Linked DNA regions of Homo sapiens: regions 2, 3 and 4 are each linked to region 1. Evidence: promoter capture Hi-C in human tissues and cell types (Jung and others, 2019). All regions are on one chromosome and are shown on one strand. The core of a region is centred on a gene start or on the middle of the fragment in contact, and the rest is flanking DNA. Distances in the headings are between cores, read along the strand shown. Region 1 holds the start of B4GALNT3 (beta-1,4-N-acetyl-galactosaminyltransferase 3). Region 2 overlaps ERC1 (ELKS/RAB6-interacting/CAST family member 1). Region 3 overlaps ERC1 (ELKS/RAB6-interacting/CAST family member 1). Region 4 overlaps ERC1 (ELKS/RAB6-interacting/CAST family member 1).

Region 1 (2,838 bases), core at 208-2,707:
TCACATAAAGTTGGAAAAGGTTCTGGAAGGCCCTGAATTCTGGATTTACAGTGTGTATCTTAATCAATAAGCATTGGAAGCCATTAAATATTTTTGAGCAGGTGTGTGACTACATACGGGATTTTTTTTTTTTTTTTTTTTTTTTTGAGACAAGGTCTTGCTCTGTCACCCAGGCTGGAGTGCAGTGGCATGATTGTGGCTCACTACAACCTTACACTCCTCCCACCTCAGCCTCCCGAGTAAGTTAGGACTACAGGTGTGTGTCACCATGCCTGGCTTTTTATGAAGACCATCTGGTGGTAGTGGACAGGATGCGATGGGAAGCTTGGAGTTGGGGAGGCTAATTAGGAAAAGTCCTGTAGAAACTATTGAATATCCAACTGAGGTGAGAACAGAGAGAAGGGAAACATAGTTCTCAATTCTGTGAGAACCTCTGTCTTGGAACAGTACTTGTGTGATATTCATTTGATTTTAAAATGTCCAGGAACACTTTGATCCTTCACTTTTCCCATAGTCTCCTGACCATTTTTCCCAGAAGAGATAATGGAAAAGAAAACTGCAGTATAACTTGCTGAGTGACCTGGGGCAGTTATTCTGCCCCTTGATACTTTATCTAATTTAAATCAGATAATAATGCTTTACCTGCCTGAAGGCAGAGGACTGGAATACTGATTTTTTTTTTTTTGAGACAGGGTCTTGCTGTGTTGCCCAGGCTGGAGTGCACTGACGCAATCACGGCTCACTGCAGCCTTGACCTCCAGAGATCAAGAGATCCTCTTGCCTCAGCCTCTCAAAGTGCTGGGACGACAGCCGTGAGCCACTGTGCCTGGCTTATCTTGCTGATCTTTTCAACTCTAAGAGTGAATACTTTTCTTTTCTTTTTAAAATTCTTTTTCGGAACCCTCAAACACCTACTCTCTTCAAACAGCCATTCCAGCCCAGTCTGGGGAAAACTGCTTGCTGGGGTTCACCGTGGGGGCTGTACGACTTCCCCAGCGCCTCTCGGAGATGTGGTTCAGGCTGGGAAGAAAGGTCTTCAAATCTCAACTGGAAAACGAAGCTATGTCTGCGTTAAGCGTCCAGTGGCTCCCGTGATATTTCACGCCTACTGGTTTCGTCAAGCAGGGAGTCGGGTCGTTGCTGTTGGCGACGAAAGGCTCTGAGGCTAAAGCCTTGGGCGTCGCCCAAACCAGCCTCTACTTCGCTTCTGCCTAAAACCACACCGTTAGGCGCCTGGGTGGTGACTCGGTTTCCCTCGGTCACCCAGAGTCCGCATCATCACTCGCCCCCTCCTCATCCCACCCGTTCCCAGTCGGGGGAGGCACCAGGCACCAGTTCTCTGGCCCCACCTCTCGCTCCCCTAGGGAAGCCGAATGGCCTCTTCGCGTCCCTGGCTTCTCGGGGGCGGAGCCCACCTGTGCCCGGGGCGGGGGCGGGGGCGGGGCCGGGGGCGGGCCAGGTTCCGCGAGCAGGAGAGCCCAGAGCCCGGAGCCCGGTCCGGGGCTGGCGGGGGCGCGGGCGGAGGCAGGCGGGCGGGCGCCGGGGAAGCCTCCTTCTGGGCAGCGAGTGAGGGCGGGCGCGCAGGGAGGGAGGGCGGCAGCGAGCCTGCGACGGGAGAGGCGTGGGGAGGAGAGCCCGGCGCGGAACACACGCGCGGAGGAGGAGCCGGGCTCGGCTCCCGGAGAGACCTGCTGGGCGCCCGCGCAGCCCGGAGACCCCTCGCGCCCGGAGCATGAGCCCGAGCCCCGCCGGAGAGCGGCCGGGAGAGACGGCCTCGGCGCAGCCCTGAGACGCTGGGCCGGGACGCGGGGCGCCCTGGGCGCGGGGCCCGGCCGGGGGGCGGCGGCTCGGGGGGTTGGAGCCCGCGCTGGCGGCGGCCGCCTCGGCGCAGCGCCATGGGGAGCCCCCGGGCCGCGCGGCCCCCGCTGCTCCTGCGCCCGGTGAAGCTGCTGCGGAGGCGCTTCCGGCTGCTGCTGGCGCTCGCCGTGGTGTCTGTGGGGCTCTGGACTCTGTATCTGGAACTGGTGGCGTCGGCCCAGGTCGGCGGGAACCCCCTGAACCGGAGTAAGTAGCACCCAGGGGAGGCGAAGGGCGCGGGGGTGGGCGGCGGCGGCGGCTCCTGCGTTGGGGGGACCCGCCTCTCATCCCATCCTCAGACCCGATTTCCCACCCATTTCTCCCTCAGGTGCCCGGCGTCGCCCCGCGCGTACTCGGGGAGAGCTGCGGGCGGGGGAAGCCGCGGGGCCGAGCGCAGAATTCCCGAGCCCGGGCCTGCCCGCCGGCCACGTGGGTCCGGGGCACCCTGGGGGCTCCTCGCGTCTCCCCTCGGAGAGCGACCCGGAGAGAGGCTCCCCGCCCGTCCCGCCGAGACGCTGGCGGAGACCGGGCCCCTCCAGCCGCTCCGGGCTTGCGGTTCCCGGGGAGGAGGTCCGTGGGGTCCACGCGCGAGCTAGGGATTCGGGTGCGGGATGCCCTCGGCCGTCCACACCCAGGCGCGCGCTCCAGTCCGCGCAGCCCAAACTTTGCCCACCGCCTTCTGTTTGGCTCACTCCGTTTCCTCTCCTGCTGCATCTTCTAGGGGGGTTCTTTTTTACCATACCTCGGAGAGTCCCGTCTCTTCCCCGCTTCCCATACGTCGCTCCTCTCCCAGCCTCCGTCCTCGGCTCTTTGAATCTCCCACCTCCTCGCTGCGCCCTCTTTCTCCTGTTCGGGCCGCCCCTTCTGCCACTTTTCTGAACCCTGAGCAAATCTACCAAACTCCCCAGTTTAAGGAGATGATGGACAGCACAGTGGACCGGGCAGCAGGTAGATTCCTACTTCTGTTTTTAACTTAGCCAA
Region 2 (2,700 bases), core at 91-2,590, 580 kb after region 1:
AAATTTGGAGTATGTAATGGTGTATACTAGTGCCCAAATATGAGATTCTTTATATGTATTTAGATAATTATCATAGTGTATCATATTTGAATATTATACAATTTCAAATGTATTGTTAATAAAAAATCACAGTTTGATTTAATTGAAAAGTGGCTGAGACATAATTTTTTATTATAAGAAATATTGTGAGCTGGGTATGGTAATATATGCATGTAGTCTTAGCTACTCAGGAGGCTGAGGCAGGAGAATCCCTCGAGTCCAGGAGTTTGAGTCCAGCCTGGGCAACATAGTGAGACCTTGTCTCTTAAAAATAAATAAAAAAATAAATAAAAATTTAAAATAATTAAGAAATATTGTGGAAAAATTGCATGTGAATAAACACTTCTTTTTAAAGGCTCTACTTTTCAAGAATGGATTGACAGTATATGTGTGTGTCAGATTATACGTGTGTGTGTGTATCAAATTTAGAGTAGATTTGAAGTTACTGGATTTATCACCATTATACCTGGAATTAGCTAGTCACCGTTATACCTTGTTGATGATGCTGAAACTATGCCCCTCACTAAGATAGTTTTTATTATGAAGTGACTCAGAAATGTCAATTTTAATGAAAAAAGTTATTGGCGTACTTGTTCATTTTGGAATAATTGAAGCAATTGTTTATGCCTGTACTTCAGAAGCTGTGTGGAAAATACGTAATATCCTTTCTAAGTATCAGTCTGCATTCAAAGACAAAATATTTGAATCTTCTGAATACTTCAGTTCCAGTGAAACAGTCCACAGGATTTTCATGCCAAAAAACCCATATGTGCTGAAGAATGGTGAACACCGCCTTATCTAGATTCCACCCCTTGCCCTAATTAAACACCAGTGCTGGCAGCGATGCATTCTCCGTATACCCACTGTAATTACTACACAATCCTAAAATTGTATAACTTTGGTCCAAAAAACGAAGGGTGCAATTTTAAAGTAAAGTGAAACACTGCAATGAGATACAGAGACAGAGAATGCTAATTAATAGATTATAGTCAGCCAGCAGTGGGGCCTAATTAAACTCTGCATTCATTATACCCTCCATAGCCCTCAGAGGTCAGGCATCTTCCACTTGATAAAGAAGATTGGTTTAATAGGATTTACAGTAATTAAATGGTTTCCCCATTTCAGTTTGAGACTGGGGATTTAGGTCCATTCTAAATATTGGATCTGATTGGACCATAGAGATCTTGTTCTAGGATCCTATTAGATGTAAAGACGCATTTGCTTAGAATTACTTGATATGTGTGGTTCTTTATTATGGAGTTCTTTTAGAAGATGTTTCTGATATAAATACTCAGCAATTTTTATGTCTCATCCTTTTGTTACTGAACTTTCAAATACTGCTGGTTGGAGAGTTAGAATAGTATGTAACAGGGAAGGCTTTTTCTTTTTCTTTTTTAAAATTGGGAGTCAGGAAGGTTTTTGGTGTATGTTTGACAAAGAATGAAAATCTAGCTGTGAGCTTGGTGGAACTGCAGAGCTACTAAGACTTTGGATGGGGCCGGGCTCAGTGGCTCATGCCTATAATCCCAGCACTTTGGGAGGCTGAGGTGGGCGGATCACGAGGTCAGGAGATCGAGACCATCCTGGCTAACACGGTGAAACCCCGTCTCTACTAAAAATACAAAAAATTAGCTGAGTGTGGTGGCGGGCACCTGTAGTCCCAGCTACTCGGGAGGCTGAGGCAGGAGAATGGCGTGAACCCGAGAGGCGGAGCTTGCAGTGAGCTGAGATCGCACCACTGCACTCCAGCCTGGGAGACAGAGCATGACTCCGTCTCAGAAAAAAAAAAATACTTTGGATGATTTTTTTTTTAAATTCTAAACAGCATTTAACCAGATTATCATCATACTTTTTAAATTATGCCTTGAAATAATTCTGTATGTTAAATTTAGTTGGAAGCTTATTTTAAAAATGTTTATTTAAAGCACTGTCATTGAAATATTTCATGAACAAAATACTGTTTAATATTATAGGACGGCAGGTGAATTTAATGTTTTTTGCCTTGTGTGTTGTGTTTCTTCTCTTTTTGGAGTCTGATTTTTATGTTGCTCATTTACTTAGGAATCGAGAATTTCTAGTTCAGAACTGCAAAAAGATAACCTTGTGTAATTCTTTGTCATTTTTTTTTCTCATTATTTGGAGACTTTTGACTATTAACATTTATATAATTTTAGGTTGTATCTTGATTTGCCGCATGATAAAAGCCATTATTATTTGCCATTAAATAAACTTTTTTTTTTTTTTTTTGAGACAGAGTTTTGCTCTTGTTGCCCAGCCTGGAGTGCAATGGTGCGATCTCGGCTCAGTGCAGCCTCCACCTCCCAGGTTCAAGTGATTCTCCTGCCTCAGCCTCCTGAGTAGCTGGAACTGCAGGTGCACGCCACCACGCCCGGCTAATTTTTTGTATTTTTAGTAGAGATGGTGTTTCGCCATGTTGGGCAGGCTGGTCTCAAACTCCTGGCCTCAGGTGATCTGTCAACCTCGGCCTCCCAAAGTGTTGGGATTACAGGTGTGAGCCACTGCTCCTGGCCTTAAATAAACTTTGTCATGAGGTTGCTAGTTGTTTCACTGTCATTTAAAGTCTGATCTTAAAATTTGGGATCTATGTCTTAGATTATTGTTTTAATTTTCTTTTTGATAATTCTGTTTTAACAAGGAGAT
Region 3 (2,700 bases), core at 80-2,579, 660 kb after region 1:
GAGTCAGACAACAGGCTAAGCACATTTCACGCTTTATTTTACTGAATCCATAAACAGTACAGTGGCATTCGTATAATTTCTCCTTATTACTAATTAGGAAACTGATTAGGAAAGTAATTATTCAGGGACACATAGCTAGCTTAGTTCTGATAGGTGAATGTCTGCAAAGCCTTGTGCTCCTAAGCTTTGTATTATATTTGCTTCCCCTTTATAATGTCTTCCCTTCTCAGTCTTTAAGGAAAATTTGTGCTTCTAAACTCTGCTTTTCTTTTCTTTTTTTCTTTTTCTTTATTTTTTTGAGACAGAGTCTTTCTCTGTCGCCAGGCTGGAGTGCAGTGGCGAGATCTCGGCTCACTGCAACCTCTGACTCCCTGGTTCAAGCGATTCTCCTGCCTCAGCCTCCTGAGTAGCTGGGATTACAGGCATGCGCCACCATGCCCAGCTGATTTTTGTATTTTTAGTAGAGATGGGTTTCACTATGTTGGCCAGGATGGTCTTGATCTCCTGACCTTGTGATCCACCCGCCTCGGCCTTCCAAAGTGCAATGATTACAGGCGTGAGCCACTGCACCCGGCCTAAACCCTGCTTTTCATTTAAAATATTTTCTTTTCTTTCTTAGTCTTTAAGGTCAATATAGCATTATTTGAAGCTTACTTAATAATGCAGATGATGACGAAACAGATTTTTATATTTATTTTTGACCACGTGATTGGAGGTAGCTGGAAATTTGAATAATCTTAGTCATAGTTCTTTAGCTGAGAAAATGGTAACACTTTGAACATCCCCCAAAATATTCATTCATACAACAAATGTGTTTTTGTTACAATCAGTGTGTTAGGGAATGGAATAGTGTTAATGGGTTGTTTTTATTGGTGAAGGGATATCATAAAAGACTCCACGTTGTTACAGTGTGTGCTAACTCTTGGGTACATACTATTTTGCAGGATGAATATAGCCACCGTTTAAAATTATCTTCCACTGATGTTTTTAGTATCCTCAGGTACTTTGTATACAATAAGCATACAGAAATATTTGTTGAATGAATGAATAACTATATCTCTAAAAAGAGATTTTATGCATATGAGAAAAATACTTAATCTTTTTTGAAACAGAAGGCTAAATTGGAAATTTATTTTTGGTGTTCCTCAAAGGTCTAATTTTAATTAATGTGAAATTTATTTCTTCATGGGAAATTGTTCTCAAAAGCTTTATCCCTTATACCTAAGATTATTACAATTACAATACTTTAGATACATTCAAGTTTTTGAAAATGAAAAGATAACTTTTTGTTTCATCAGTGACACCGAAATTACTGACTTGTCAAATGTATACTTCCAATAATTAGTATCTTTTTTAGTTCCTTGTTAGGTGGTAGACATAATTTAAAAGGAGATGTAATTTCTGTTTACATGGCTTCCATTTAGGGTAAAAAACTATTTTTAAAATTCTTAGAAAACAGGAATGTAAAGAAGGTGTTAGAAAGAAAATACTTTCAATGTTAAGAGAGAAATTAATCAATACACATAACATCAAATTATAGGATTTTACAAAACCATGTTATGTATAACATTAAAAGTGGCTTTTTAAGATAAGAATTTTATGCAAACTTTTGAGAATGAAAAAGATAACAGTGAAAAATTAGCACAACAGCAGCAGATTTTGAATTTTAAATAGTACTAGGAGGTTTCTAAAACCTTTTTTGTTATATCTGCACTCATCCTGCATTTGATCCATCATGTTCTGAAGAGGTCTCACCTAGAAAAATGAAAACCATTTCATCAGTACAGTGGTGTTCAGTTGCTTACTGCTGTCTCATAGTCATCTAATTGAATTGGAATTTCCTTTCCCTCCATTCCCTTTCTAAGAGGTTTCAAAGAATATTTAGAAGACACAATAAATGAAAACTGGACATTTCCCTATTGGTTGAATAAGTTTAGTGGTTTTTTTTGGCTCAGGGTTGGGGAGATCCAAGGTTATGTCATGCAAAAAGATGAATATGACCTATCACACAGTTCGTGCTGCATTTAGTTTCATATTTTGTGACTCAGATCTGTGAAAGATACAGATAAGAGGTGTTTGTTTTATTTCTTTTTTCCTTAAAGTGTTTTACTTCTTTTCTAGATTGGCCAGGTGAAACAGGAGCTGTCCAGAAAGGACACAGAACTACTCGCCCTGCAGACAAAGCTAGAAACACTCACAAACCAGTTCTCAGATAGTAAACAGCACATTGAAGTGTTGAAGGAGTCCTTGACTGCTAAGGAGCAGAGGGCTGCCATCCTGCAGACTGAGGTAGAAACAATTCTGGGATTTGTGGGGAGTTGGTTTCTTGGCACCTTTTCATAAGCGTTACCTGTGCTGTTTTTGTTATGTTTAGAATTGGGAAATATGAGTAATGTTATGATTAATTCTTCAGCAGCGTGATCAGTCACTGTGCTAAAATGTAACCATCTTATTTCAGTTGTTCTTAGATCTAACAAGTTAAAACAGGTGCAGTTTATGTTTTTAATTCTTTAAACTTTTGCCAAGTCTGTACTTCAAAGTATACTCTGACAGTATTAAAAATAAAAGGATAATTGTAAAAGAGAAATCATTGATTTAGAAGCTTCAGTTCAACCCCTGGTGAATTTTCTAGTCATGAATGACAATGAGCTTGGTTACACTGTGTTTGGAGTACATTTAAGTGTCTTTAAGTTGTGATAT
Region 4 (2,700 bases), core at 181-2,680, 640 kb after region 1:
TAGAATTTGTGGTATGATGGACATTTTGGACACAAGGTGATTGAGTATCTGGATTTTGGTACCTTCCTTAATGAAGGGTTGTTTTGTCTGGCAAGAGTTAATTTACTTGGGGATTAACTTGATCCTTTCAAGACTTGCTTTTAAACTCTGTTAGGCCTGGTTTAGAATAGCCTTTTCTCTAGGCTACATCAGCTCTACTCCTAAGCTTGACCTTTTAGTGTCTCTACTAAATGCCTCTGCTGTTCTCCCCACTATTTGGAACTTGAATTTTTCCCAGCCCTATGGGGTTCAGGTAGTTACTCAACTCATGGCTCTCTGATAGTTGCTCTTTCTCCAGTAGCTCTTGATCTTATTTTGTGGCAGCTTGCCCTATACATGCACAGCTTAGTATTTGGCCAAAGACTCAAGGGGACCCTTGTCAGGTTAGACAGTGCTGCTTTTCTGGTAAGCTCCCTTCTCTGTGTTTTGTTTTTAATTTTTAATTTTTTTTTTTTTTTTTGAGACAGAGTCTCACTCTGTTGCCCAAGCTGGAGTGCAATGTCGCGATCTCGGCTGACTGTAACCTCTGCCCCCCAGGTTCAAGCGATTCTCCTTCCTCAGCCTCCCGAGTAGCTGGGATTGCAGGTGCCCCCCACCATGCTCAGCTACTTTTTGTATTTTTGGAAGAGACGGGGTTTTGCCATGTTTGCCAGGCTGGTCTTGAACTCCTGGCCTCAAGTGATCTGCCCGCCTTGGCCTCCCAAAGTGCTGGGATTACAGGCGTGAGCCATGGTGCCCGGACCTCTGGTATTTTGCTCCGCAAAGTTTTGCAGATTAATGGGAACCTTACTCATTAAACTGTCTTTGGAGCTTTGCAAGACTGCTGTTCTTTGTTTGGGCTTTCCCTCCCTACGCCCCATACTAGACATATCTGGGCCATCACCTTGTTTATTTTCTCTCAAGGATCATAGTCCTGTATTGCTTGTTATCCAGGGTCTGAAAACAGTTATTTCATGCATTTTGTTTAATTTTATGATAGTTTATGACAGGAAGGCCCATCTCACCTTATGGTCAAAGTGAGAAGTATAATGGTAAATTTATTGAAAGATTTAAAGCAGATTAATGCCATGATTTGTGGATATTTTATCAAGATCACCCTGGTGCTCTCTTGAAAATAGACAAAGGAGGTGGAAGAAAGCTAACTAGAGGCTGTTGCAAACTAGACTGGAAATGGGGTGAAATGGTTAGACTCAAGAAATACTTCCGCACTAGAACAGTTAGGACCTGCTGTTGACTTGGTTGTGGGAAATGAATATCAGGAGGAGAAAAAGGAGAGCTTTGGTGTTTGGCTTGAGCCACTGGAATGGCAGTGCCATTTAATGAGACAGAGAAGACTCATCTCTCATCAGAGTCACCAGATGATGGGTGAGATTGAAGAAGAGGAAATCAAGAATTTTTTTTGATAAAATAAGTGTGAGTTGCCTGTTAGACATCTAAATAGAGATGCCAAATGGGCAGTTGGATGTATGAGTCCTGAAATCAGAGCAGAGGGCAGGCCTAGAAATTCATCAGCATTTCCGTTGTATTTTAAACCATGTAGTAGATTAAAGAGTTTAGATGGAAAAGAGAAAAAGGTTAGAACTGATCACCTGGTCACTGGTCTAATTTAGACCTGGAGGTCTGATTTAGAAGGAAGAACCTGTGAAGGAAACAGAGAAAGTGCAACTGGAGAGTGAGAACTAAAAACAGGAGAGTGTGATGTCCTAATAGTCAAGAGAAAACAAGTGTCTAGGAGGGATTGGGCCGTTGCTTTGAATGCTTCTGAGAGTTCCAGGGAGATGAGGACAGAAATGTGTTTGTTAGAGTTGGTAACTTAGAATTCGTTGGTGGTCTTGATGAGTTGTTTCAATGGAGGGGTAGAGAAACAAGCCAGATTAGGCTGCTTTTATGAGGTAAAGGGAATCTTGTATGTCTGAAATATTTTAAAATTAATTAAAATAAAAAGAGTGAATGGGAGAGGGAGAGGAAGAAGGAGAGATAGCAGGTGTGGACCAGCTGTCTTCAGGGCAGGCATTTGAACACCTTGGAGTTCACAGAGACTCTGCAGTGGTGTGTGGGCAGTTTCAGATTCTCAACTCCCATGTGTCATTCTCTGGATTTTAGTTGGCCGAAAACATACCTGTGAGATCATCTTTCCCCTCCCTTTTTATGGTTGCACTTTGCCCACTCTAACTCCTGTTCATCCTTCAGCTCTCAGGTGTTCCTTAGGAAACTTTACAAGATCCCAAGACTACGTCAGGATCTCCTAATTACTCTCTTACAGTATTGTGGATATTTTCTTTATAACACTTTTTACATATGAATTATACAGTTACTTAAAAAGTATTTTCATTCATTTGACAAATATTTGAGTACTATCATTGTACTGTGTATTGTTCTGGGTGCTGATATACATCAGAGAATAAAAAAGAAAAATTCCTGGGATAGGAGAGACAAACAATAAACAAACAGTTATAAATACCAAGAAAAAAGTAGATCTTGGTTAGGGAGATTGGGGATGTATATTAGAGTCAAATCATAAGTGAAAATGGGGTAATAAGGATGAGCCTGCTTGAGACTTTGATTTTTTTTTTTTTTTTTTTTTTTTTTTTTTTTGACAGAGTCTTGCTCTGTCACCCAGGCTGGACTGCAGTGGCACCATCTCGGCTCACTGCAACCTCC

What was found. The method cuts DNA at HindIII sites, captures the fragments that hold promoters and counts their contacts. A contact is called where the count stands out against the background at its distance.
Region 2: a fragment that was not itself captured here is called in contact with the fragment with the promoter of B4GALNT3 in region 1 in 1 of the 25 tissues and cell types used here (heart right ventricle).
Region 3: a contact is called between a fragment that was not itself captured here and the fragment with the promoter of B4GALNT3 in region 1, in 2 of the 25 tissues and cell types used here (dorsolateral prefrontal cortex and heart left ventricle).
Region 4: a fragment that was not itself captured here is called in contact with the fragment with the promoter of B4GALNT3 in region 1 in 1 of the 25 tissues and cell types used here (lymphoblastoid cells).

The regions. Positions count from the first base shown.
Region 1 is chr12:458,482-461,319 of GRCh38, forward strand. B4GALNT3 (beta-1,4-N-acetyl-galactosaminyltransferase 3) reads left to right here and starts at 1,458. Exons shown (of 20, transcript NM_173593.4): 1 at 1,458-2,064. The coding sequence starts at 1,896. RefSeq lists an enhancer at 626-1,609. The HindIII fragment of the contact is 8,839 bases long and covers 105-2,838 here.
Region 2 is chr12:1,034,106-1,036,805 of GRCh38, forward strand. The region is part of intron 2 of ERC1 (ELKS/RAB6-interacting/CAST family member 1); the gene reads left to right. Among named protein-coding and RNA genes, the nearest start is that of ERC1, 44 kb to the left of the region's middle. The HindIII fragment of the contact is 8,762 bases long and covers 1-2,700 here.
Region 3 is chr12:1,113,745-1,116,444 of GRCh38, forward strand. ERC1 (ELKS/RAB6-interacting/CAST family member 1) reads left to right here. Exons shown (of 19, transcript NM_178040.4): 7 at 2,122-2,289. LOC124902857 (a long non-coding RNA gene) reads right to left here. Exons shown (of 3, transcript XR_007063157.1): 3 at 1,670-1,755. Among named protein-coding and RNA genes, the nearest start is that of ERC1, 120 kb to the left of the region's middle. RefSeq lists an enhancer at 1,656-2,700. The HindIII fragment of the contact is 4,498 bases long and covers 1-2,700 here.
Region 4 is chr12:1,097,234-1,099,933 of GRCh38, forward strand. The region is part of intron 3 of ERC1 (ELKS/RAB6-interacting/CAST family member 1); the gene reads left to right. Among named protein-coding and RNA genes, the nearest start is that of ERC1, 110 kb to the left of the region's middle. The HindIII fragment of the contact is 4,018 bases long and covers 1-2,700 here.